7 separate regions of the Homo sapiens genome follow, and all the other regions are linked to region 4. The links are contacts of gene promoters, found by promoter capture Hi-C in human tissues and cell types (Jung and others, 2019). All regions are on one chromosome and are shown on one strand. Each heading gives the region's core, a stretch centred on a gene start or on the middle of the fragment in contact. The rest is flanking DNA. Distances are from core to core; before and after follow the strand shown. Region 1 overlaps SLC30A2 (solute carrier family 30 member 2). Region 2 has its middle 31 kb from the start of MIR3917. Region 3 holds the start of EXTL1 (exostosin like glycosyltransferase 1). Region 4 holds the start of LDLRAP1 (low density lipoprotein receptor adaptor protein 1). Region 5 overlaps PAFAH2 (platelet activating factor acetylhydrolase 2). Region 6 has its middle 15 kb from the start of PAQR7. Region 7 has its middle 7.2 kb from the start of LINC02793.

Evidence for each region. The method cuts DNA at HindIII sites, captures the fragments that hold promoters and counts their contacts. A contact is called where the count stands out against the background at its distance.
Region 1: a contact is called between a fragment that was not itself captured here and the fragment with the promoter of LDLRAP1 in region 4, in 1 of the 25 tissues and cell types used here (heart left ventricle).
Region 2: a contact is called between a fragment that was not itself captured here and the fragment with the promoter of LDLRAP1 in region 4, in 2 of the 25 tissues and cell types used here (pancreas and stomach).
Region 3: a contact is called between the fragment with the promoter of EXTL1 here and the fragment with the promoter of LDLRAP1 in region 4, in 1 of the 25 tissues and cell types used here (heart left ventricle).
Region 5: a contact is called between a fragment that was not itself captured here and the fragment with the promoter of LDLRAP1 in region 4, in 3 of the 25 tissues and cell types used here (adrenal gland, heart right ventricle and hippocampus).
Region 6: a fragment that was not itself captured here is called in contact with the fragment with the promoter of LDLRAP1 in region 4 in 1 of the 25 tissues and cell types used here (small bowel).
Region 7: a contact is called between a fragment that was not itself captured here and the fragment with the promoter of LDLRAP1 in region 4, in 1 of the 25 tissues and cell types used here (spleen).

Annotation. Positions count from the first base shown.
Region 1 is chr1:26,039,210-26,041,909 of GRCh38, reverse strand. SLC30A2 (solute carrier family 30 member 2) reads left to right here. Exons shown (of 8, transcript NM_001004434.3): 6 at 105-210; 7 at 1,999-2,133; 8 at 2,605-2,700. Among named protein-coding and RNA genes, the nearest start is that of SLC30A2, 5.6 kb to the left of the region's middle. The HindIII fragment of the contact is 5,249 bases long and covers 1-2,700 here.
Region 2 is chr1:25,936,457-25,939,156 of GRCh38, reverse strand. No RefSeq gene overlaps it. Among named protein-coding and RNA genes, the nearest start is that of MIR3917, 31 kb to the right of the region's middle. The HindIII fragment of the contact is 4,681 bases long and covers 1-2,700 here.
Region 3 is chr1:26,020,474-26,023,173 of GRCh38, reverse strand. It overlaps EXTL1 (exostosin like glycosyltransferase 1), which reads right to left and starts at 1,399. Exons shown (of 11, transcript NM_004455.3): 1 at 1-1,399. The coding sequence starts at 527. The HindIII fragment of the contact is 12,554 bases long and covers 388-2,700 here.
Region 4 is chr1:25,542,221-25,544,922 of GRCh38, reverse strand. It overlaps LDLRAP1 (low density lipoprotein receptor adaptor protein 1), which reads right to left and starts at 1,317. Exons shown (of 9, transcript NM_015627.3): 1 at 1,137-1,317. The coding sequence starts at 1,224. RefSeq lists silencers at 818-997, 1,028-1,487 and an enhancer at 1,588-1,647. The HindIII fragment of the contact is 11,973 bases long and covers 1-2,702 here.
Region 5 is chr1:25,990,692-25,993,488 of GRCh38, reverse strand. It overlaps PAFAH2 (platelet activating factor acetylhydrolase 2), which reads left to right. Exons shown (of 11, transcript NM_000437.4): 2 at 2,626-2,762. The coding sequence starts at 2,673. Among named protein-coding and RNA genes, the nearest start is that of PAFAH2, 6.0 kb to the left of the region's middle. The HindIII fragment of the contact is 7,134 bases long and covers 1-2,797 here.
Region 6 is chr1:25,889,352-25,892,266 of GRCh38, reverse strand. It overlaps a transcript of STMN1 not described here. Among named protein-coding and RNA genes, the nearest start is that of PAQR7, 15 kb to the right of the region's middle. RefSeq lists enhancers at 642-1,145, 1,146-1,649, 1,157-2,356 and a silencer at 1,675-1,969. The HindIII fragment of the contact is 6,813 bases long and covers 1-2,915 here.
Region 7 is chr1:25,032,564-25,035,329 of GRCh38, reverse strand. No RefSeq gene overlaps it. Among named protein-coding and RNA genes, the nearest start is that of LINC02793, 7.2 kb to the left of the region's middle. RefSeq lists enhancers at 809-868, 1,549-1,608, 2,609-2,658. The HindIII fragment of the contact is 6,561 bases long and covers 1-2,766 here.

The DNA.
Region 1 (2,700 bases), core at 179-2,678, 500 kb before region 4:
CAGCAGAGAGAGCACCTCTCCCCAGCAGTGCTGGGTGGGAGGGGAGAAGGGAAGCTGAGGTGTTAGATGGTGAACTCCAGGTCTGCCTTCCTGTCTTCCTGCAGCCAGAATACAAGTATGTAGACCCCATCTGCACCTTCGTCTTCTCCATCCTGGTCCTGGGGACAACCTTGACCATCCTGAGAGATGTGATCCTGGTGTTGATGGAAGGTAACCTGGGCTTTGTGGCTCCCTTTTTGCTCTTGGCTCTCAAGCGCTAATCAGCTCAAATAGGGTATGTGTGTGTCTGGGGCATCCTAGCACATGGGCGGGGAGCCAGGATCCGGAGCCCCGGCATAGGCTGGAAAACCTCCTGGGGCCCCTGGGCTGATCTTGACATAGAGCCTGGGCTTTCAGGTGTGGCAGTTCCTGGAACCGTCCCCCAGCCCGAGTCTTCCCTTCCCCCTACCCCTAAGGGTGCCTCCTCTGCCTAGTCAGGTGGCTTCTGGGGGACATCTGTAGCATCTGGAGCTCTCCAGCCCTCCCCTATACACTTCCCCAGGCTCTGGCTGCCTTCTCTCAGGAAGAGAGAGGGGGTGAGGATTATGCTTCTCATTGCACAGAGGGGCAGACTGAGGCTCAGAGAAGGACAGTCAGCCTTGGACAAAGCTACTGAATCCACTGCAGCGCAGGCCTTTCCTACATCTCAGGGACCAAACAATGCCACACCCTGTGGGGACATGGCTGTGCTTTGTGGGGTTGGAGAACGGTCAGTGGTGGAGAATGATCTGGTCTGCCCTGAATTACCTTTTTTTTTTCTTTTTTCTTTTTTTTGAAACAGGGTCTTGCTCTGTCATCCAAGCTAGAGTGCAGTGGTGCCACCAAGGCTCACCGCAGCCTTGACCTCCTAGGCTCAAGTAATCCTCCTGCCTCAGCCTCCCAAGTAGCTGGGACCACAGGCGCATGCCACCATGTCTGGCTAACTTTTAAATGTTTGTAGAGATGGGGGGGGGGTCTCACTATGTTGCCCTGGCTGGTCTCGAACTTTTGGGCTCAAGCAATCATCTCACTTCGGCCTCTCAAAGTGCTGGAGTTACAGATGTGAGCCACCACACCTGGCCCTGCACCTTGGCTTTCTTATGCTCTAGGCCTGGGGTCTTGGGCCAGGGTCATAGGCCTCTGCGTGGTCAGGGTCAGTCTGGAATGGAGTAGGATGCTGGCCTGGGCTTAGCAGTATTTGGCTGCAGGTCAGAGCTTTTTCTCCAAGAATATGCTAACCCAGATGAAAGCGATAATGATGAAGATGATGATCGTGCCCTGGGTGGGTCCAAGGATTCTCAGGATCTGTTCTTTCCTTCTTTCCATTCAAAAATATATTTATTGGCCAGGTGCGGTGGCTCACACCTGTAATCCCAGCACTGTGGGAGGCCGAGGCAGGCAGATTACCTGAGGTCAGGAGTTCAAGACCAGCCTGGCTAACACAGTGAAACCCTGTCTCTACCAAAAATACAAAAATTAGCCGGGCGTGGTGGCATGCGCCTGTAGTCCCAGCTACTCAGGAGGCTGAGGCAGGATAATTGCTTGAACCAGGGAGGCAGAGGTTGCAGTGAGCCAAGATCACGCCACTGCACTCCAGCCTGGGTGACAGAGCAAGATTCCGTCTCAAAAAAAACCAAAAAATATATTTATTGAGCACCTACTATGGAGTAGGTGCTGTTTTAGGCACCAAGGATACTGTGGTAATCAAAGGAGACTGTCCTGCCCTCATGGAGTGTCCATTTTAGAGGGAGAAACTGACAATAAGTACATTCATAAATAATTTCAGTGTTAAGAGTGGAGAGGAAATACAACAGAGTGATAGGGCAGAGACCTTGGGAGGTGAAGGCAGCCTCAGACCTGCAGGCCAAAGAGGTCTTCTTTGAGGGGATGACACCTGAGGATCAGGAGCCAGCCCTGCACCAATGGGCAGGCGTGGGAGGGGTAGTTTCCTTTAGTTTCCCCTGTCCTTGCCGTCCTCAGGGACCCCCAAGGGCGTTGACTTCACAGCTGTTCGTGATCTGCTGCTGTCGGTGGAGGGGGTAGAAGCCCTGCACAGCCTGCATATCTGGGCACTGACGGTGGCCCAGCCTGTTCTGTCTGTCCACATCGCCATTGGTGAGTGCTTGGGACACTCAGGGTGGGGTGGGAGACAGGCAGCCAAAGGCCTAGTGCCATCCCCAACGGGTCCAGGTGACCCCAGATGCTCACAGTGCCCATGCATCAAGCCCAGCCTCATGCTGAGTACTTGATACGCATTATTCCATCTGATCAGCACAATCTCATTTATCCATGAAGAAACTGAGGCTGGGGTTGGGTGGTAAAGTTACTTGCCCAGGCTTTTACAGCTAGTATATGGCAGTAGGTGGCAGATTCCTGGCCTTAAGGCCAGTGCTTTACCAGCTCTTTCAGGCATGAGCCAGGTCTGGGCTGGGAGGCTACCTGGCAGAGGAATGGAATCTGGGGGCTTCTCCATGTTCATGGTCCCCCATCCTGTTCTGCTGGGGATGGGGTATGAGATTTGGGCTCCTGATGGTTCCAAAGGGCCAGAGTAAATGGCTTCCCCCGCTGTGTCCTCTCGGCCCCCAGCTCAGAATACAGACGCCCAGGCTGTGCTGAAGACAGCCAGCAGCCGCCTCCAAGGGAAGTTCCACTTCCACACCGTGACCATCCAGATCGAGGACT
Region 2 (2,700 bases), core at 6-2,505, 390 kb before region 4:
TCCATGTCAAAAAAAAAATATATATAGATATATAGATATATAGATATATAGATATATAGATATATAGATATATATGTGTGTGTGTGTGTGTATGTACCTCATAAGCACTTTTCCATATTAAACAATCTTTATAAACATTTTTAATGTTCATGTACATAACATTTATATGACTAAATATCTTACTTTATAACTGTAACACAATTTATGTAACCAACTTCCCAGTATTGGATGCTGAGGTTATTTTTATTTTTTTCCTGTAAAAGTTAACATTATTATTTGTAATGGAACTGTTCTGTGTCATGACTATGGTAGGGTGGTTCCACAAATCTACATGTGACAAAATTTGGTTGAACTAAATACACACACACACACACACACACACACACACAGACAAATGCGTACTTGAACAGTAGTGAAATCTGAATAAGGTGGGTGGATTATATGAATGTCAATTATCTGATTGTTATTATGCAAGATGTTATATTTGGGGAAAACTGGGTGAAGGGTATATGGGATCTCCCAATATTATTTCTTTTCTCTTTTTTTTTTTTTTTTTTTTTGAGACAGAGTCTCTCTCTTGTTGCCCAGGCTGGAGTACAACGGCACGATCTCGGCTCACTGCAACCTCTGACTCCTGGGTTCAAGTGATTCTCCTGCCTCATCCTCCCAAGTAGCTGGGATTATGGGCATGCACTACTGCGCCTGATTAATTTTTTTTTTTTTTTTAAGACGGAGTCTTGCTCTGTCGCCCAGGCTGGAGTGCAGTGGTGCTATCTCGGCTCACTGCAAGCTCCGCCTCCCAGGTTCACGCCATTCTCCTGCCTCAGCCTCCCGAACAGTTGGGACTACAGGCACCCGCCACCATGCCTGGCTAATTTTTTTGTATTTTTAGTAGAGACGAGGTTTCACTGTGTTAGCCAGGATGGTCTCGATCTCCTGACCTCATGATCCACCTGTCTCGGCCTCCCAAAGTGCTGGGATTACAGGCGTGAGCCACTGCGCCCAGCCTAATTTTGTATTTTTAGTAGAGACGGGGTTTCTCCATGTTGGTCAGGCTGGTCTCAAACTCCCGACTTCAGGTGATCCACCTGCCTTGGCCTCTCAAAGTGCTGGGATTACAGGTGTGAGCCACTGCGCCCGGCCTCCCAATATTATTTCTTACAACTGCGTGTTAATCTACAAATTAATTCAAAATAAAAAGTTTTGGCCATGTGCTGTGGCTCATACCTATAATTTCAGCACTTTGGGATACCAAGGCAGGAGGATTGCTTAAGCCCAGGAGTTTGAGACCAGCCTGGGCAACACAGTAAGACCCCATCTCTACAAAAAATTTAAAAATTAGCTGGGCATGGTGGCATGGGCCTGTGGTCCCAGCCAGGTCCCATCTACTCAGAGGGCTGAAATGGAATGATTGCTTGAGCCCAGGAGGTCGAGGCTGCAGTGAGCTGTGATCATGCCACTGAGCTCCAGCCTAGACAACAAATCAAGACCCTGTCTCAAAAATAATAATAGGCCGGGCACGGTGGCTCACGCCTGTAATCCCAGCACTTTGGGAGGCCGAGACAGGCAGATCACTTGAGGTCAGGAGTTCGAGACCAGCCTGGCCAACATGGCGAAACCCTGCCTCTACTAAAAATACAAAAATTAGCCAGGTGTGGTGGCACACACCTGTAATCCCAGCTACTCAGTAGGCTGAGGCAGGAGAATTGCTTGAACCCAGGAGGCAGAGGTTGCAGTGAGCTTAGATCACGCCATTGCACTCCAGCCTGGGCAACAGAGAGAGGCCCTGTCTCAAAAATAAATAAATAAATATAATAATAATAGGTGTTTAAAAACCACTACACTGGACATCTTTTGTAAGTACACGTGTACTTCTGAACTTTTAGTTTTTCCTTTGAGTAGATTCCTATGAGAGAAATTACTCATAAGAAAATTCAATAAGAAGTAAGAGCTCTCAATCTCAGCACATTAGGGTTTCCTGGCCATCACCCAAGGAGCTCTGCGGGCATAGAAAACTGATATGCGTGCTGCTGAGGAACAGGGCTTAGCCATACTCACAGAGCTTTCCACAAACCTGGAGTGCCGGCCAACTAATGTACAATGAGAAATGTAACCAGAGGATCCAAGACCCCTGCCCCTAGCCTGAGTTTCCTCTCCCTACAGCCCTTCACAGGCAAAGCCACATTCTAATTGGAAGATTGACTTGTGATGTGAAGCAAGGGAAATTAAGAGACATGATCCCAATGTTAAAGATACCAGGGTAAGCCCTGCTGTGCACATCTCCATAGCAGGACTTAAACCACTGCTACCAGAGACAGGCACACGGGTTCTCGGGCAGGGCACCCCTCCTTAGCGCTGCTTGAAAGGGGACAGCCTATATTTGCCTCTGTAACACTATTTCTGGGCTTCCAAGGTTTGCTAACCCCTGTTCCATCAGTGCATTGCTACTTTAGGTGTGTGAAGATGCTCCAATGAGTTACAGATCAATCTTGTTGGCCTGGAAGCTGGTCTGTCTCACGACACTTGTTTTTCTTGTTTTTGAGATGGAGTCTCGCTCTGTCGCCCAGGCTGGAGTGCGGTAGCATGATCTTGGCTCACTGCAACCTCTGCCTCCCAGGTTCAAGCGATTCTCCTGCCTCAGCCTCCTGAGTAGCTGGGATTACAGGTACGTGCCACCACGCCTGCCTAATTTTTGTATTT
Region 3 (2,700 bases), core at 150-2,649, 480 kb before region 4:
CCCAGCTGGAAGGTCCTGGGGCAGGGAGCCGGGTGGAGACGGAGGACCAGATGGTTCCTGCCCCTGTTCCATTGCAGAGGCATTGAGCTGCACTCTCCAGTCTGGGCGTCCAGGCTGAGGAGGAGGAGGAGGCAGGCCCCAGCAGGGCTGAATGTGTAGAAGCGAGAGCCCTCAATGGAAGCCAGGATCCTGCGATGAGTCTCAGAGATGGTTCCAACCGCTGGGTACACGAATACCTTAAGGCCATCGCCCCTGCACTTTGAGGTATCAAAGCAAGATTCCCAGTTGCAGCTGCCACCATGAGGGGCTTGAGGAGGTGAAACGGCATCTTCTGGGAGCTCTCCAGGCTGGGAGAAGCTCTGCAGGAGCTCTGCATCCAGCCAGCGGGGCCAGCCTTGGGAAGCCCCGGGCCGAGGTCTGGGAGGCAATGCCAGGCGGAGAAGGGAGAAGCCTCCCAGCAGGACAAGCAGGAGCCAGGAGGCTGACAGTGCCAGCCACAGGGACTTTCTTCTCCTCCACGACTGCATGTGGCCACCCACAGTCAGGGCTAGGGAAGCTGGGAGGCCTCTGCCAGCAAGCAGGAAGAGCAGGGCCTGGGGCGGGAGACCAGAGCTGGGACCGACCTGCTAGTCCTGTGCTGTCATTGTACAGATGGGAAGACTGAGGCCCATCGAGACCAGGCCGCCTGTCTAAGGTCAGATAGTGAGTCACCAGCCAGGCAGGAGGAGGCCAGGTGGGACCCAGCTTGCTGGCCTGGCCCCCCTGCTCTCAGGACTCTGCCTTCTCGGCCTTTGGACAACCAAGCCAGCCTTTTCCCTCCCAGCAGGGACCCCTGCCCCTGGGCACTGCTCTGGCTGACGCAACCCCTGTCCAGAATGCAGGGCCGTGTCCCCCTGCCCTCCTGGCTGCACCCCTTGACCTTGCCCTCAACTGAGAGGAGGGCTGTCTGCCAGGCCATGGGGACCAGTCAGAGCTCCCACAGGAGGCGGCTTGGCCAGGGACAGGCTGGAGGGAGCTGGGCTGGTCTTCCCACTCCTCCCCTTGCCTGAGCAGCCCTGGCTGCCCCTGTGCCCGCTGGCAGACGCTTCTGGGCTGTGGCCCCTGTGGCTGGAGCTAAAATTAGACCCTGCATCCCATGTGGATCATCGGCGTCAGCTGAGGTCACAGCCTGGGTGCAGCCGGTGTCCCCCTGCCTTGGAGGGCCAGGAGGGCTCGGGGTCCTGATCCTTATCCACTCTGCCGCTGCACCAGCTCAGGAAGTGCAGCCCCTCTTCCCCGCAGCCCAGCAGCTGCCTTGCACCATCTGGCTTGGAGCTATCACAGTGCAGAGGCCAGGGCCGCTGTGCCAAGCCCCCCAAACCCTATGGTATCTCCTCCCATCCCTCTCCAGTCGGCAACTGGCCCATCCTGATCTCTTTCCTTAGCAGCAGCCTGGCTCCTCCCCTCCCAGCCCTGATTCGCTCCTGGCTGGGAGGCAGGGTCTCCATTTAACCCCTTCCAAACCAGTTTCCTCAATTGCTAATCCAACCAGCAAGTACTGCAACTCACAGCTGGCCATGAGTTATCACAGCCTCTGTCTCTCAGTCCTCCAGCCACCCTCCAAGGCAGAGATTTACCTGTCATTTCTTACAGATGAGGAAAGCTCAGAGAGGGGATGAACTCTTCCTAAGGTGACCCAGCTAAGAAGTGGCAGGGTGGGGATTTCAATCCTGAGCTCCTGGTCGTTGGTCACCCCAGCTGTGGGCCCTGTGGCTGGAGAAAAACTAGACCCTGCACCTGCTGTGGGCCATCAGAGTCAGTGGAGGTCAGAGCCTGAGTGTGAGGAATCTCTGAATCGGCACATGAGAAGGTCAACAGGTGAGACAAGTGAGGAGTTAAGGGGCGGGGGTGGAGGAATTGGGTAAGGTGCCCCCAACTGTCCCCAGGATTGGTCTCTCCTCCTTCAGCAGCCCCACCCCCAATCTCCTCCAATTCCCAGCCTTTTGCTCCAGTCCTTATGGAAAGTTCTTCCTGCACTTGACTCTTCCATAGTCCAGGCCCCATGGAGGGATTTCCCCGGTCAGTGCCCTGTGAGGGGAGTCAGGAGTGGGTGATGTCAGCCACTGAGGAATCTCTGGGGTGACGGGGGAGACACACTCTGGCCATGAGGAGTTCTGGGCTGATGAGGGAAGGCACAGGGAGTGGACAGACTTGAGTGGGTTCTGCCTCTTCCCCTGACTGCCTCGGGGGTGTTGGGCCTCTGTCCCCTTATCTCTGGGATGGGCATAATGTCAGCCAGGAATGGGTTGCCAGGTTGACGCAGGCCTGTCCCCTGAGGTCCCTCAACAAGTGGTGGCCTCCTTTCCCCTGCGTGCCTCCCCTTGATCTTGGAGGGCTGCTGATCAGACCAGGGAGCCACCGTGGGATGTTTTGCCCTCAGTGAGCAGCCAGTGTGAGAGTCCTAAAAATGGCCCACAAAGGGGACACTTGCCTCTTGGCACTAATGGCTCAGCCACTCGGTGATGAACTGCAGTTCCTGCATAACTCAGTCCTCCCACACTGAGAGGCATCCACAAAGGCCACTGGCTGCTTCGCACGCCCCCCCTTTCACTGTGCCCAGCCAACTCCTCATCCTGCAGGAGTCAGCTGAAAGCTCCCTCCCCACAAGAAGCTTCTCCAATGCTCCGCAGGCTGGGTTAGAGCCCCCGTCTAGGTCCTCAT
Region 4 (2,702 bases), core at 68-2,567:
GCACTCCTTGGACCAGGGAGCTCGGGCTCCCCTGGCAGAGCCCTGTAAGGCCAAGAGGGGATGGGATGAGGGGGTGCTGTACTGTCAGTTGTTTCCTGATGAGGGGAGAAGCTGTGGCCCGAAGTAGGTGGCAGGGAGGTGGGAGTGTGCAGCAGTCCTGGGCTCTGGCTCCAAAACCAGCAGGAAGGTGTGTGTGACCCCAGGCAAGCCACTCTCTTCTCCCTCCCAAACAACGAGACCTGCGCTAGGCTGGGTCTTCTGGCTTCAGGGGAAGGTGCCAGGTGACAAGTTCCCTGAGCGTAATCAGAGACTGGGGGAGAGAAAGGGGGGGAGGCCCCTCCCAGCCTCCCAGACGCCCCAGGGAGAGGTGGCGGCGAGTCTGTCGTTTGCCTGGGCACCCAAGGGACTCTGGAAGCCCGAGGGGAAAGGTGCGAGAGAAAACAGGTTTCAAAAATAGTCGGGACGCCAGGCTTGCCACCTGGACCCGGCTAGAGGAAGGGACGTAAGGGTCTAGATCGCCTGATGTGGGGCTCTCCCGAGGCACCCCAGGCGGGGCCTCGTTCCCAATTTCAAGTACGTACCTGCGACCCCGGGCTCACACCTGGATGGGTGTCTGGGCACCCGGAGTCAAAAGTTGGCCCGGTGGGTCGGGCAGGGGGCGGGAGAACGGGCCAGTGGGCTCCTGACCGCCGCAGCTGCTGGCTGGGGCGCAGGGGTGCGGGACGGGGGCGTCTTCCCAAGCCCCTGCGCCCTCTCCTCCTCCCCTAGGCACCGACGACGAGCGCCTGCCTCCCCCTAGCTGGCCAGGACAGCAGGGCGGGAGGTGCCGCGGGTGGCGGGGGCCTCTTCTCCCAACCTGCACCCCACCCCATGCCGGCTGCACCTGAGGACCCCGAGCTCGGGCTCCTTCCTCAGCGCTGCCCCTCCTCGCAGCGGCATCGAGCGGCCGGCGAGTAGGTGCACAACTTGACCCCGGCCGACCCCCTGCCCCGCAGGGCCGGGAAAGGGCCACGCCGGGACCGGAGCGCCGGTGAGGCCCCGCCTCTGCCCAACTTGGCCGCACTCCGGGCGCCCGCGGAGGCCCCGCGCGCCTCTGCCCGATCCCGGCCCGGCCCGGCTGACGCGCGCACACTCACTGCGGTGCCGGCCACCGCCCCCCCAGCTCTGCTTGGCCAAGCTGGGGCTCCGGATCAGCGCCCGCCCCGCCGACTTGAGCGCGTCCATGGCCCGCTCCGGCCGCCGCCGCCGCTGCCGCAGCCAAAACTCCGTCAGGAAAAACTTTCCGCCCGGCCCTGCGGCGCGCGGGCTGCGCGCTCCTCCCCTCCCAGCGCCAGCTCCGCCGCGGCGTCCGACGGGGCGGGGCGAGAGAGGACAGGCCCCGCCCCCAGACGGGCCGCGCCCCCGACGGCCGGTCTCGCCCCGCCCGGTCCCTGTCCAGGCTCCAGGTCCAGGCACCAAGAGTTTCCGAGGCCGCCCGAAGGCGCCAGAAGATAGCAAATCGCAAGCCCTAGACGCCCCCGCTTTCCTCCTTTTCCCCAATCCCCACCCCGTAGGGGCCTGAGGGCCTGAGAGCAGCGGCCTAGGATTTCCAGTGACCATTTTACAGATGGGGAGACTGAGGGCTCCTCCAGTGGTGAAAGATCTTGTTCAGGGACAAAAGCAATGCGATGTCCAGGGCAGTGGGAGACTTAGGAAATAGTGGAGGCTGTAAGCCAGGGATATCCAAACTTTTGGCTTCCTTAGGCCACATTGGAAGAAGAAGTGTCTTGGGCCACACATGAAATACACTAACACTAACGACAGCTGATGAGCTGAAATATATATATATACACACACACTCATGTTTTTTGTTTTTCTGTATTGTTTTTTTTCCCCTGAGACAGAGTTTCACTCTGTTGCCCAGGTTGGAGTGCAGTGGTGCGATCTCGGGTCACTGCAACCTCTACCTCCCGGGTTCAAGCTATTCTCATGCCTCAGCCTCCCGAGTAGCTGGGATTACAGGCATGCACCACCATGCCTGGCTAATTTTTGTATTATTAATAGAGATGGAGTTTTACCATGTTGGCCAGGCTGGTCTCGAACTCCTGACCTCAAGTGATCTGCCCGCCTCAGCCTCCCAAAGTGCTGGGATGGCTGTGAGCCACCACACCCTGCCCAAAAAAATCTCATAATGTTTTAAGAACCTTTACCAATTTGTGTTGGGCTCCATTCAAAGCCGTCCTGGACCTCACATGGCCAGTGGGCCACAGGTTGGACAAGCTTGCAGTATAGACCCTTGTTAGGCGCAGGGTCGGTATATAAAAATTTGCCTTTAGCAAGTCCAGCCAGGCACTTTACTCATCCTCGTAGCTCCCAGGCTGCTCCCTGGCACCACCTGAGCATGCTGGGCCACCCCATGCCCCCGCAACTTCCCAGGTAGCCTCACAGATGGTATGATCTGGAACGTGCCCCTGACACTGACTTGCTGTGTGACCTCAGGCAAGTACTTCCCCTCTCTGAGTCTTGTTTATCTGTGAATGAGAGTCAATGCTATCTCTAGTGATCCTTCCAACCTGCCAGGGTCAAGAATCTGCATGACCTTGACCCTGACCCCAAGCTGCTTCCTAGGAGCATTCGGAGGGCAGTCTGAACCCCAGAATTGCTCAGGCACAGATGTTCTAACTCCAGGATTGGAAGGATTTGTTCTAACTCTCTAGGATGCC
Region 5 (2,797 bases), core at 59-2,558, 450 kb before region 4:
GACTGTGTGTTGTTATCATCGTTCTGCTTGTGACTCTGAGCAGCTCACTTAATCTCTCCGGACCTTGGTGTCTTCCCTGGTAAAGCACGTGTATGTACGCGGAGAAGGGGAAAACGATTGTGGAGGGGATTGACGGAAATGCTCCCTTAGGTCTCTTCTTACCCAGACATGCTTTGACTGGAACTCCTGAATCCCTCCCAGAGCATCTTAAAGGAAGCAGAATAATTTAATCATTAACATGTGGACCCCAGACTCAGTGTGTATCCATTTAGATGCTTTTGGTTACAACCAAAAGAAATCTAACTTCAGTTGGTTTAACCAAGAAAGGGAACTTACTGACTCATGTAACTAGAAAGTCTAGGAGTGGGTCAGGTTTCAGGTATGGTCTAATCTGTGGATTCTTAATGTCTTCACAAATGGGCCTCTATTTCTCTGTGATTCTTCTGGTTTTCCCATCCACCATGGGTATCTTCATCCTCAAGGTGGCAAAAGTGGCTGCTGTGGTTCAAGGCCACTTGACAGGTGACATCTGCACATCACACTAGTCCAACACAGGAAATAACTTTTCTCCCCTCAACCGTCATACCAAAGTCCCGGGTTTTACGCCTATTGGACCAACCTAATGCCATACGCGCACTTTTCATCCAAATACTGACCGGAGAATAAGAAGGACTGATTGGCTCCGGTTAATTAAGGCTCAACTCCGGAGGTTAAGGAGGGGTCAGCCCCACCCAAATCACAAGGCAAGGGACACTGGGAAGTTTGACATTCTCATGTTACAACCACATTGTCCATGATCGAATTCTGGCTCTGCTCGCCATATGTTATTGGGTAAATTGCCTTTGTCAAGCATCTGTTTCCTCATCTGTAAAATGAGATAATAATACGTATCTCAGAGGACTGTTGAAAGAATTAAATAAAATAATATGTGAAAAGCACTAAACATAGTTCCTGGCACAGAGTAAGTATGATGATGATGGTGGTGTTGGAGATGATGAAACTGAAGAGGGTTAGGGGAGCACTGGCACCAGTTTAGGAAGCAGCTGAGCCGTAGGAATGTTATCTAGTCAGGAGTGTGCATGCCTGTCATGCTGAAAGCATCTGTTTGATCTACTGCCCACATCATACTTTTCCCTACCTCTGCTTTTTTTCCTCTTAGGATTTTTTCTATAAGTGCTTTCTTCCTCCTCCCCTGCCTCTCAACTTCCTCATCTTTAAAGGCCCAGCATAAGTGCTACCCCATATTCAGTAGTTTAAAAGCTGGGTGTGGTGGCTCTTACCTGTAATCCCAGCTACTTGGGAGGCCTAGGCAGGTGTATTGTTTGAGCCCAGGAGTTTGAGACCAGCCTGGACAACATAGCAAGACCCTGTCTCTCAAAAAAATCAAACGGTTTTAAGAAAAAGCTTAGTTCAGTAACTTTGCATCTGTATAACTGAATCTCCCCCTGAGCAGGATCAGTAATGGTTAAGAACTTAGCTTCCGGATTAGGCAGAGATGGGTTTGCCACTGGGTAACTTGGGAAGGTTATTCAACCTCTTTATGCCTTAGTTTCCTCATCTGTAAAACAGGGTCTTTTGTTTGTTTGTTTGTTTTTTGAGACAGGGTCTCACTCTGTCACCCAGGCTGGAGTGCAGTGGTGCAATCTCGGCTCACTGCAACCTCTGCCTCCCAGGTTCAAGCGATTCTCTTGCCTCAGCTTCCTGAGTAGCTGGGACTATAGGTGCCTGCCACTGCACCCGGCTAATTTTTGTATTTTTAGTAGAGACGGGGTTTCGCCATGTTGGCCAGGCTGGTCTTGAACTCCTGACCTCAGGTGATCTGCCCGCCTCGACCTCCCAAAGTGCTTGGATTACAGGCGTGAGCCACCGTGCCTGGCCAAAACAAGGTCTTAATAGTACCTACCTCAGGCCAGGCGCGGTGGCTCACGCCTGTAATCCCAGCACTTTGGGAGGCCAAAGTGGGTAGATCACGAGGTCAGGAGATCAAGACCATCCTGGCCAACATGGCGAAACCCCGTCTCTACTAAAAATTAAACAAAAAATTAGCTGGGCATGGTGGCACGTGCCTGTAATCCCAGCTACTCAGGAGGCTGAGGCAGGAGAATCGCTTGAACCAGGGAGTCGGAGGTTGCAGCGAGCAAGATCATGCCACTGCACTCCAGCCTAGCAACAGAGCGAGACTCCGTCTCAAAAAAAAAAGTACCTACCTCAGAGAGTGGTTGAGACAATGAAATGATGCAATGTGTATAGTGTCTATAAAGAGGTCAGTACAGTGCTAACCGTAAATAATGGATCTTAGTGGTTACTATTAGCCTCAGGAGAGCAAGGTCTGTGTGACAGTCTCTGCAGCAGTAGCTGCTGGATAAACATACGTTAATGGGCTGTAAGGAGTATGGATGGCTCTCTTTCGTCTTCCAGCCATCTCCTCACCCTAGCAAAATAAAAAACAACCCCCAACCTTGGCAAAGGCAATGTAGCAAAGTAGTAGGTGCAAGATTTAATGAGCGACGGCAGGGAGGATGAGGTGCTAAGGAGGGGTGGACAGGGTAACAGATAACACATTTCAGCAACAGGAAGCCGAGAGGAAACCAGCAAGCGGCTGCTGTTCTGTGTTCCCCCATCCAGCCAGCAAGTTCAGCTCCGGCAAGTCATTTGATTCACCCGGTGATGAAATGGGGGTCAACCAGTCTGTGGGCTTTCCACCTGTCACAGGACCCCACCTCGTAGGCTGTGGGGATGTGATGGAGGGTCAGAATCTCCAGGTAAGTGTCCCCAGCTCCCTTTCTTCTGTTTGCAC
Region 6 (2,915 bases), core at 344-2,843, 350 kb before region 4:
CAGGCACCCCACCACCATGCCCAGCTAATTTTTGTATTTTTAGTAGAGACGAGGTTTTGCCATGTTGGCCAGGCTAGTCTCGAACTCGACCTCAGGTGATTCGCCCACCTCGGCCTCCCGAAGTGCTGGGATTACAGGCGTGAGCCACAGCACCTGGCCTAATTTATTTTTAATTTTAATTTTTAAATTTTTCTCAGACTTTAGTGAGCATAAGAATGGGCAGAGATTTTTAGAGTCACACAGAATAGTATTCCGGTTCTGGCTCTAAGAGCTTTTCAGGGGGCTTGGGCACCCATACCCTCATCTGTAAACTGCAGAGACCCCCTCGCAGGCTGCATGAGTATTGAGCCCAGTGCTGAAATGCCCAGCACAGGGCTGGCCCCTCCCTGCCCAGTGTTCCTCCTGCCAGCTTCATGGGTCTCCCCAGCCTGCCATTTCCCCCTCATTGTGTGTGTTGGTGGTGGGGGGTGGCGGGGTGCAGATGAAGGCAGATCCTCTTCCCCAGAATGAGGAGAGCAGGGGGCTCACAGCCTGCTGCACTGGCCCACCTCCACAGCCCTGTCCCCACTGGCCGCCTCTCTGTACTTGCCTCTGCCAACTCTCTGGGTCTTTGGCCTTTCTTTCCAAGATGCAGAACGTTTGTAAAACGAAGGGGTTGGACCAGAAGAACTCAGAAGTCCATTTTGAGAAGGGGAAGCTAAAGTTCAGATGCCTTAAAGTTCTGTGTCTTTTCTAGGAGGTCCAAACTCCCAGCATATCTGACTGGGCTGCCCCCAGGGGACTGGGACATCTGCTTTTGTGTCACCTGGCTCCATCATTTCTCCCTCCTCTCTTTTCTTTCTCTTACATGACTGAAGTTGTTTGAGCTCTTAAACAATTTGCCGTGCATTGTATAGGCATTTTACATAATCCATCTGAATTTTTTTTTTTTTTTTAAGATGGAGTTTTGCTCTTGTTGCCCAAGCTGGAGTGCAATGGCATGATCTCGGCTCACTGCAACCTCTGCCTCCTGGGTTCAAGCAATTATCCTGCCTTAGCCTCCTGCAGCTGGGATTACAGGTGCCTGCCACCATGCCCGGCAAATTTTTGTATTTTTAGTAGAGATGGGGTTTCACCATGTTGGTCAGGCTGGTCTTGAACTCCTGACCTCAGGTGATCCAGCCACCTCGGCCTCCCAAAGTGCTGGGATTACAGACATGAGCTGCTGTGCCCGGCCCCGATTGAATCCTTAAAACAACCTTGTGAAGTAAATACTATTCTTTTTTATCCCATTTTATAGATGAGGAAACTGAGGTTCAGAGAGGGTCAGGTCACTCATCCACTGCTAATTAGAGGCAGAGCCAGCAGGCTGCTTGCTCTCTCAATGCCATTTTCCAGATGGCGGGGGTCCCATTCTGGCTTGAATTCATGGGGCTCAATATGGCAGTGCCTGTGCTCACCTCTTCTTTCCAGTTTTTTCCAAATGGTCTCTGACTCAGTCCCTGGATACGCTCGCCTAGCAGGATCTCCTGGGCTGCTGGGTGTGTCCCGTAGACCCTGGCCGACCTACGGATGAAATGAGTAGTCAGACAGGTATGCAGTGTAACAGCAGCTAGATGACTACCTGGCTCTAGTGGCCAGAGAGCAGCCCCGAGAAGCTGGGGCTGCTTGCTTTTATTCCGTGCAGGCACAATGCCGGAAACCTGGAGCCAACACAACCTGTAGGTAATTAACATTTATTCTTCCCCTTTCAGGGAACTTCATGTGCAGATAATCAAAGGTCAGTTTCTGGTCAACATAAGTAAACAAGCCTGTTTAAGATAAATTCCCCCACACTCCCTTGTACCTACTCCTTGCCCTCTGCCTCAGGGTTATGGAACAGCTGCCTTCAGCTGTTCTCTCCTGGAGCTTTGCAGAGCCCTCTGACCTTTCAGAAGGCCTGCTCCTTTTCCCTGTAGTTTCTCCCACCACTCTGACTGATCTCCTACACTGGGCAATCAGGGAAGAGGGCTGGGATGTTAGTCCAGTTTCGGACATACCTCATGTGTTGCGTCCCCTTCCCCAAGCTCCTTCTTCTGCTTTCTCTTTAGATCTTCAAGAGCTAGAAGGTTCCCTAAGAGACCACCCGAAACAAGCCTCTCCATCCACGTATTCATTGAATGAATACACCTCCAGTCCTCCTACTTACCAGGCAGTGTTAGGTCCTGAGGATACAGCGATGGACAAGGCAGACAAGGTCTCTGCCCTTGTTTACATCCTGGGGGGAGAAGACAGACTATAAAAGAGATTAGGATGAGTGCTGTGAGGATGAAAAGGGTGATATAACAGACAATGACTGTGGGCAGGTGCAGTGTGTTCCTGGCAAAGGGAACTGCTAGTGCCAAGGCCTGATGGCAGGAACTAGCAGGTGTGAGGAAGGAGCCTAAGTGAGGCCCTCTTGGCTGGATGAGGTGGGCAAGGGGACCCCATACAAGGAGGTGCTCAGGGTCCAGCTGTGTAGCCTGGGGCCAGGGCGAGGGTTTGGTTATAGTCTGCATGATGCAGTTTTGAAGGGCTTTAAGGGGGGAGTGATGTGATCAGATTACATGTGTAAAGAATTCTTCAGCCACCAGGAGGAGAATGGACGGTAAGGAGAGCCGGAGTGCACAAGGGAGAGAGATGAGAGTGGCTTGGACAGTGAGGTGGAGGGTCATGGTTAGATTCAGGATCTAGGTCATGGTGAAGATAACAGGAGCTGTTGGACTGGATGTGGGCATGCAGTGAGGGCTGACTCTTGGGCTTTTCCCTTGGGGAGCTGAGTGAAGGGGGGTGCCATCTACTCAAACAAGCCTGGAGAAGGAGTAGGTGTGGGGGGATGGATGGAGGGGAACAATGGTTTCATTTGGCCATCATGGCAGACCTTGCTGGCTGCTCTCCCAGGACTGAGTCTCTCCTCC
Region 7 (2,766 bases), core at 120-2,619, 510 kb after region 4:
GACTCTCATTCTGTCCCCACGATGGGCTAGCCTCTACCTCCTCTGCCAGCTCTGCCATCCTGAGGCCCACTCTCCAGAAGCCTGAGCTGGGACTGGGCAGTGGTGCCAACAGCATCAGGAAGCCTGCTGCTGGAGGGCTGCTCCGGGCCCCGCCCAGCCTCCCCCTTACCCCTTGGCTGCACCACAAAGGCTGTTTGGGCTCCGGGGTCTGTGGAGGGCTCTGCCAGCCTGCAGTAGACGGGGGTTTGGGTGCCACAGTGTCAGTGGCAATGGCGTCTCTGGCTGCTGATGTGGGAGAGGTGACTTCACACGCAGCTCCTCCAAGAGCACGGCCTCCAGTGACTCAGTGGAATCAAGGAAAGAGATTTGCCACCTCTCACCCAATGGGGGGAGGCAGGGGTAGAGGCAAGCAAGAGGAGTCCTCCCCTCAGGAGGTGCCAGACCCCACTCCTTGCATATGGAGTTCAGGGGAGGGGCAGCAAAGAACGGGAACCCTTGAGATCTGAGTTCCAGTCTACCTCCAGCAAGAAGCCCTTCCTGTTCACAACACAGTACGGAGCATCTGCGCGCCCCAGGAGCCCTGGGAGACGAGGTTTGCTGTCTTGTAGGAAAAGGCCCAGGGGCCTTGGTTGACTTGGCCAAGGTCCCATAGCTAGGAAGGAGCTGAGTGAGGCTTGGGCCAAGTGCTACCTCCCAATGCAGTGCTCTTTCCAGAACCTCACGGCCCTGCTACCCACTGGCTGTGGGACCGGGGACAATCTCCCTCCTTTCCCACCTGCCTCCTCTGTAAGGACTCTTCGGGGACTTTCCAGCTCTGGCCTTTCAGGACTCCCCATTTTCACTGTCCCTCTGAGGCGGCGGGTGGTGGGTGATCACCCCATTTAACAGACGAGGAACAGGTCCAGACGGGGAAGCAACTTGGCTGAGGCTTCAGGGCGAGGAAGTGGCAAAGCGGGGCTGAGAACCCAGGTCTGTGGACCCCCAGCCACAACATCAGGGGCCCCGGCCGGACCCAGGCTTCTAAGAATGCAGTGCTGGTCCCAGAACCTGAGAACAGGGACTTTCAGGCTGGCTGGTTCCCAAGTGTGAGTGCAGGAGGGCCTGGCTCGGCAGGGGGTGGGAAGGGGCCAGCCACTTCCTGCTGGGGCTGGTGCGGTCCCCATGCGGTGGCCATCAGAAGCTGGCCACTTCCTGGTCTGGGCTGCCTTCCCCTTTCTGAGCCTGGGAGGGAACGAAGGAGCGGAGTGAGGTGCCCTTGCGTGCTGCGGCCTGGACGACGTCTGGCCTCTTTTCATTTCCCCTGCATACCGCTTCGCTCTCCACAGCCACCAACGGTCGGAAGCTTCTGGGAGCTGACTGCCAGGTCCCCTGTCCACAGCCGAACCCCTCCTGCCTACGGGCTTCCTCCTCCCTGGGGCTCAAGGGACTCCTAGCCCTGCTGGGGGTCTGCCCACCAAGGGCCTAGAATGAGGCATTGTCGTTTGTACCGAGGCTGAGAGGTGGCCATCGGTCTGAGGTTACACGCACAGCCAATAAGTGGCAGAGCTGTAATTGGAGCTCAGATGTGTCTGACTCCAAAATCCACATCCTTTGCATATTTAACAACCCCCTGTCCCCTCAGAGGAAGTCTGACCAGAGGAGGCTTGGACGAGGGGACATGGAATGACCCTGCTAGACACTGACCTCTGAGGCCAGTGATGGGACCAGCTTCTCCTTCCTGTTAGATCCTGGAACCCAGCCTGGTGCATGCCCCAGAGCAGGTGCTCGCGACACTGGCAGAAACACAAAAGGCATCCTGACTGTTCCTGTCCAGCTCCTGACACTCATGAGCACCTGCTGCATACCAGGCCTGGGCGTGGAGACACAGGACCAAGGGAGAAGACCTTGCCCCAAGATCGGTGGCCATCTTCCGTACCAGGCTTAGTGTGGACAATGTTTAAATGCACCTCAAATTCCACATGCAAGAGAGATCCTTTAAGTCCTTCCAGCAGGAAAGCCAGACCTGGGTTGCACAGGGACCCCCTCTGGTGCAACAAGGAGGTAGCAGGGTGTGAGGATGAAGAACGTGGAGCCAGGCAGGCCTGGGTTCAGATCCCAGCTAGACGAGCCTAGGGTGGCCTTGGGGAAGTGACTTCATGTACCTCAGTTTCCTCACCTGTAGAATGGGAATCAAACCATAGAAAGTGCCTTACAAGACCTCCCTTCAACCCACTCTGGATTAACAAACACTCTCCCTGTCCTTTGAAAGAGAGGCTAGTAGATGCCACAGCTTCCTGAATGTTCCAGGCAGGCCGGCCGCTGCTATTCCCACCTAGGCGGCTCCTCTGACTCAGTGAGGCTTCTTCCCAGACCTGCAGCTGCTGGCTGTAGTGGCCGAACCAGGGAGACCAGAATGTGAATGGGAAAGAGAGTCGTGTCACAGAAAACCAAGAAAGGACTTTGCAAAGGCCCAGTTATAGGCGAGTTGTCAACGGAAGAAAAAAAAAAAGTGCTGCCAAATGAGGTGTGGGCAAGACAGCCATAAAAGACTGGGGAAGACAATAGTTAAAATCCGTCACAAACTTTCATTGAATTAGGTGTAGACTAAAACTGGAGGGAGGGGGTGATTATTAAAAATCCAGAGGGAGTCTAGGGAGTCTGTGCTCAGATGGCTTCACAAGCATCTCTAAGGTCCCACTCCGCTTTAAAGGACTCCTAATGAGAGCCATAAACGCTGCTGCACAGGTTGGTTTTATGCAAGAAAAACAAGGTAGGACACCAGCTGGG